Linked DNA regions of Homo sapiens: region 1 is linked to region 2. Evidence: promoter capture Hi-C in 16 types of primary human blood cells and fetal thymus (Javierre and others, 2016). All regions are on one chromosome and are shown on one strand. The core of a region is centred on a gene start or on the middle of the fragment in contact, and the rest is flanking DNA. Distances in the headings are between cores, read along the strand shown.

What was found. Contacts are between HindIII fragments. The CHiCAGO score rates a contact against its expected background, and 5 or more counts as called.
Region 1: a contact is called between the fragment with the promoter of INTS1 here and the fragment with the promoter of BRAT1 in region 2, in 1 of 17 cell types (neutrophils). The highest score is 5.5, in neutrophils.

What each region holds. Positions count from the first base shown.
Region 1 is chr7:1,502,983-1,505,682 of GRCh38, reverse strand. It overlaps INTS1 (integrator complex subunit 1), which reads left to right and starts at 1,294. Exons shown (of 48, transcript NM_001080453.3): 1 at 1,294-1,360; 2 at 1,682-1,780; 3 at 2,492-2,700. The coding sequence starts at 1,723. RefSeq lists an enhancer at 1-202 and a silencer at 1,089-1,648. The HindIII fragment of the contact is 9,546 bases long and covers 1-2,700 here.
Region 2 is chr7:2,554,081-2,556,780 of GRCh38, reverse strand. BRAT1 (BRCA1 associated ATM activator 1) reads left to right here and starts at 1,257. Exons shown (of 14, transcript NM_152743.4): 1 at 1,257-1,294; 2 at 2,334-2,476. The coding sequence starts at 2,350. RefSeq lists an enhancer at 673-1,350 and a silencer at 1,263-1,502. The HindIII fragment of the contact is 11,664 bases long and covers 1-2,159 here.

The sequences.
Region 1 (2,700 bases), core at 45-2,544, 1.1 Mb after region 2:
AGGGGTCAGGGGAGACCTTCGACCCTTTGACTGGATGATTCCCCCACCTTTTATTTTTATTTTTTTTTAGACAGGGTCTCGCTCTGTCGGCCGGCTGCAGCGTAGTGGCACCATCATAGCTTACTGCAGCCTTGACCTCCCAAGCTGAAGAGATCCTCCTACCTCAGCCTCCTCAGTAGCTGGGACCGTAGGCATGCACCACCATGCCTGGCTAATTTATTCTTGATTTTTGTTTGTAGAGATAGGGTCTCACTATGTTGCCCAGGCTGGTCTCAGACTCCCACTTTGGCCTCCCAAAGGGCTGGGATTAGAGGTTCATGCCACCATGCCCAGCTAATTTTTATTTTTTTGTAGAGATGGGGGTCTTGCTATGTTGCTCAGGCTGGTCTCGAACTCAACCGATCCTCCTGCCTTGGTCTCCCAAAGTGCTGAGATTACAGGCATGAGCATCACACCTGGCAACTGTATGATCTTTTGTGTCTTTTGAGTTTTGTTCCCATCAGTGTTTCCATTAAAAAAAAAAAAAAAAAGGCGTGGGGGCGGGGCGGGCGCAGTAATTCCAGCACTTTGGGAGGCCAAGGCGGGCGGACCACCTGAGGTCAGGAGTTCGAGACCAGCCTGGCCAACATGGTGAAACCCCGTCTCTACTAAAAACACAAAAAAATTAGCCAGACATGGTGGCGGGCGCCTGTAATCCCAGCTACTCGGGAGACTGAGGCAGGAGAATCGCTTGAACCTGGGAGGTGGAGGTTGCAATAAGCCGAGGTCGCGCCACTGCATTCCAGCCTGGGCGACAGAGCGAGACTCCGTGCCAAAAAAAAAAAGAAAAAAGAAAAGGGTGAACTTTGTGGAACACGAGTTCTATCTCAATAAAGCTATTATTATTATTATTATTATTATTTGAGACAGGGTCTCTCCCCGGGAGCCCCCCGGGCTGCGCCCCCTCGCCAGTGCCTGCGCCCCGGCCGCCCCCGCTCTCCGGGACGTGCAGAACCTGCCACTTGACTCATCCGCGGATCCCTGACGCCACTCCTCCCCGCCGTGCGTCCTGGAGTGCGTCCCTTCGCAACGCCAGCACCACCTGTGAATGGAGAGGCCAGCGCCTGCCCCGCGCCGCCGACCCACCTGGACCGGACCACATGCGCGCGGCGCCGGCCAGCCCGCCTCCCGCCGCCATGGGGCGCTGCAGGCATCAGGCCGGCGCCGCGGGCCTCTCGCGCCTCCTTCTGGGCCCGCTTCCCGCCGCACTGTTTTCCTTCCGGTTGTTCCGGAAGTCGGGTCCTCGAGGGCGGTGAGATCGGTTTCCGATTCCGGGGTGGCCGGGTGGCGGCGGCGGCGCTCCGGTCGCGATGGGCCAGAGGTAAGTGAGCCGCGGCCTGGGCGCTTCCTCATTGCCGGGCGAGCGCCTGGTTCTCCCGGCTACCGCTCCCGGCCTCTGGGCCGTCCCTTCTGGTTCTGCCGCCTCCAGCCCGGCGTCCGCGTCGCCTGCTGCCGCCCGACTGAGCCGCTCCCGGGCGGCTGGGAGGCGGGGTCCCTGCAGCTCCTGCAGCATCGCCCCGCCGGGCGGGCGCGGGACCACTGTCCCCGGGTCCCAGGCCCAAGCCCCGTGCGGCAAGGGAGCGAATGAGCGAGCGAACGAGCGAATGAGTGAAGGAATGACCGCACGCTGGCTCCTCCGCAGGTGACGCCGCAGCCGCCGGGAGCCGCGAGGGACGGGGCAGGATGAACCGGGCCAAGCCCACCACGGTGCGCCGGCCCAGCGCCGCGGCCAAACCCTCAGGTGCGTCTCCCTCCTCGCTCTGCAGCCCGGGGGTCTTTGGGGGTCTTTGGGGGTCTTTGGGGATCTCAGCTGCCGCGGATCCTGCGTTGGGCTTGGTTGTTCCGCAGCCGCGGCTGTTTCCAGGAATTCGGTCTGGAAACACTGCTCTCGGTCCTCAGCGGCTCTGAGAGTCCCTGGGAGGCTTGGGACAGTGGCGACTTCCTTCGGGACCCCGGTGATCTCGTTTCAGGCTGAGCTGCAAGGCGGCCGACAGTAGCGGAAGGTCTCCCCAGCCAGGAGGCGGGAGGCAGCACAGTGTAGCGTAGCACGGGGTCTGCGGCTGAACTGTCGGCTCAGATCCTCCGGACTTTGCCACTCGCCTGCTGTGTGACGCTGGGCACGTCGCTTAACCTCTCTGTGTCCCTTTCTCTCTTGTAAAGTTAGAGTAATAGCACCTATTGCGGAAACTCGGGGCGGGGGTTACTAAGCACACTAATTTGGATAGACCAGAGATGGCCTGGTTTGTGGTTAGCGCTACGTGACTGTCCACCATCACCTGTGCGTATCCTGCTGGTCCCAGCTCTGCTGTAGGCTGCTGAGTGAGCTCTGGCTTCTTCCTTGCCTCCTCTGACCCTTGTTTAATCCCCTCTGACATAACAGGAGGTTAGAGTCAGTCTTTTTCCATCTTGGGTGTTGCAAATGTGCCCGGTTTTCTCTCTCCTTTCTCTGCAGGGCACCCTCCCCCAGGAGACTTCATTGCTCTGGGCTCAAAGGGTCAGGCCAATGAATCGAAAACGGCGTCCACCCTGCTGAAGCCAGCCCCTTCCGGCCTGCCTTCTGAGCGCAAGCGGGATGCGGCGGCCGCGTTGTCCAGTGCCTCGGCCCTCACCGGTCTCACCAAACGCCCCAAACTCTCCTCCACACCCCCTCTGAGTGCCCTG
Region 2 (2,700 bases), core at 8-2,507:
GTCAGTGCTTTTAAATTTTTAAATTTTAATATCCATAGGAATTCTGCTTTGTTTCCTAAATCTGGTGTTGGCTCCCAACAATCTTGCTATAAAACAATGCTTTGGGAACATGAGCCTTGTCTATCCACTGGCTTTGAGACTCTCGAACACACAGTTAGTGTTTTGAACTCAATTTTTTGGACCTAGTTTTTCTGCCTGTTTGCTTTCTTAAAACACAGGGTCTTGCTCTGTTGCCCAGGCTGGAGTGCCGGGGCAGGATCATAGCTCACTGCAGCCTTGAACTTCTGGGCTCAAGCGATCCTCCCGCCTCAGCCTCTGGAGTAGCTGGGACCACAGGCGCATGCTACCAGGTCTGGCTGATTTTCTTTTTTTTTTTTTGAGACGGAGTCTCGCCCTGTAGCCCAGGCTGGAGTGCAGTGGCACCATCTTGGCTCACTGCAACTTCCGCCTCCCAGGTTCAAGAGATTCTCCTGCCTCAGTCTCCCGAGTACTTGGGATTACAGGCGCGCGCCTCCACGTCCGGCTAATTTTGATATCTTAGAGATACAAAAATTAGAGACGAGACGGGATTTCGCCATGTTGGCCAGGCTGGTCTCGAACTCCTGACCTCGTGATCCGCCCGCCTGGGCCTCCCAGAGCGCTGGGATTACAGGCGTGAGCCACCACGCCTGGCCTTTTTTTTTTTTTTTTTTTTTTTTTTTAAATTTTAAGAGATGGGGTCTCGCTTTGTTGCCTAGGCTGGTCTCAACTCCTGGCTTCAAGCAATCCTCCCAACTGCGCCTCCTAAAGGGCTGGAATTACAGGCATGAGCCACAGCGCGGCCGCGGAGGACTTAATTTGAGAACCTGAAGCTAAATGACCAAGGGCTTTGGTGCACGGATCAGGACGCTTCTCTCCGGCACATAGTTTTCTCGCTCCCGCCGGTGCAGACACTGGGCGCCCTGCAGGCGAAGCCCCGCCCCTCCGGACACAACCCCGCGCCTTCCTCAGAGATCCCCGCCCTCGAGACGCCCCGCCCACCCACCGGATGCTCGGCATGAACCACTAGGCGCCTGGCGGGGGTGATCTGTCGGAGCGACCGGCTTGGCGCCTGCCTGTCCCCAGCCCCTCTCAGCTTGAACTCCTTCCTTCAAGTCTGGGCCCTCGAGGCTTCCAGAGCGGCCTCCAGGGGTGCAGTCTCAGTTCCCCACGCCAGCCGTCTCCGTCCTCCGCCTCCTCCGGGCCTGGCAGGTGGCACTGTCCGGAGGCGGAGCCTTGGGCGAGGGGTGGTTGCGGCGGAGGACGCAACCGAGCGGTGAGGCGCGTGGGCCTTCGGGGGTCGAGGTCGTGGTAGTGGGGCGCGGGGAGGCCAAGACCCGGCCGAGGGGGGCGGGCGGGCCAGGGAGCAGCCCAGCCCGGGGCGTGCGCGACCTGGGCTCGCTTCCCAGCCCGACTGTGGCCGCCTGCTCTGGCGCCCCTTCTGGACTCTCGGGCCTGGCGCTCGCGGCCAAAACTGACTTCAAAGTGTGGGGAGGGTTCCTCTTCCCGGGACGCAGCCTTCCCGGGCATTGGCAGACGGTGCCCCGGTTAGACAGAGCCGCTGACCACCCCGCCCACCCCCGAGGCTGGACGCACGGATGCACACCTGGTCCTGGGAGAGACAGGCGCCCCTTCCTTTCCGCACCCCGCCGCCCCCCTCTCCCCCCCGCCGGCTTCAGATGCAGCCACCACTAATCCTGGGAGGGACAGACACACGGACAGGTGCCCCTTCCCCTCCTCACCCTCCTACTGGCTGCAGAACAGCAAATGCAGCCACCACTGACCCTGAGAGGGACAGACACACGGACAGGCGCCCCTTCCCCTCCGCACCCCCCTGCTGGCTTCAGGACGTCAAATGCAGCCACCACTTGACGCTGGGAGGGACAGAAACTTTCCAGCCCAGGCTGGCCCTGGGGCATGGGTAGACATCCCCTTGCACACATGGCTGACCCCGGAACTCAAAGATGCCCCTGACTCTGGCCCACCTGCAGCCTGGGCCAGCACCACGCTGTTGCCCCGACTGCACCAAAGACCAAGGGTGACAGACTTTGAGTTCCGGAGGCCTTGTGGTTTCAGCTAGACCCTCATCTGCCCCTTTCAGCCCCGCCACCAGCGCTCAGGGCCCCACCTAGACCAAAGCTTTGCATCCATCCCTGCAGTACAGACCTCTGGTCTGGGGATCATGGTTCTCCTGGTCTGAGATGAAAGTTCTGGGGCCCCTTCCCAGGCCTGAGCAGGCATGGTGGGCTGCTGTGACTAGAGCGAGCTGGGTCTGGAGTGGGCATTGAGGTTTGGCTCTCACATTGCCTTTGCAGGGCCTGCGGCCTCACCATGGACCCAGAATGCGCCCAGCTGCTCCCGGCTCTCTGTGCTGTTCTGGTAGATCCCAGGCAGCCGGTGGCAGATGACACCTGTTTGGAGAAGCTCCTGGACTGGTTTAAAACGGTCACTGAAGGAGGTAAGGAGGTGGTGCTGCTGTTTACTGCCTATCCAGAGACCAGACGCAGAGGCTGGGACAGGGAGCAGGGGCCAGATGGGGACTCCCCTGTCCTGGAGGAAGGGCAGAAACTGCCAATCAGATGTCTTTCCTTCACTTCCTAAGGATTATCTGTGGCAGACTGAGGGCAAGTTAAGATGAAGCCCGAGAGAATGATCTGGAGAGTTAGAGCCTGAAATTCAGCC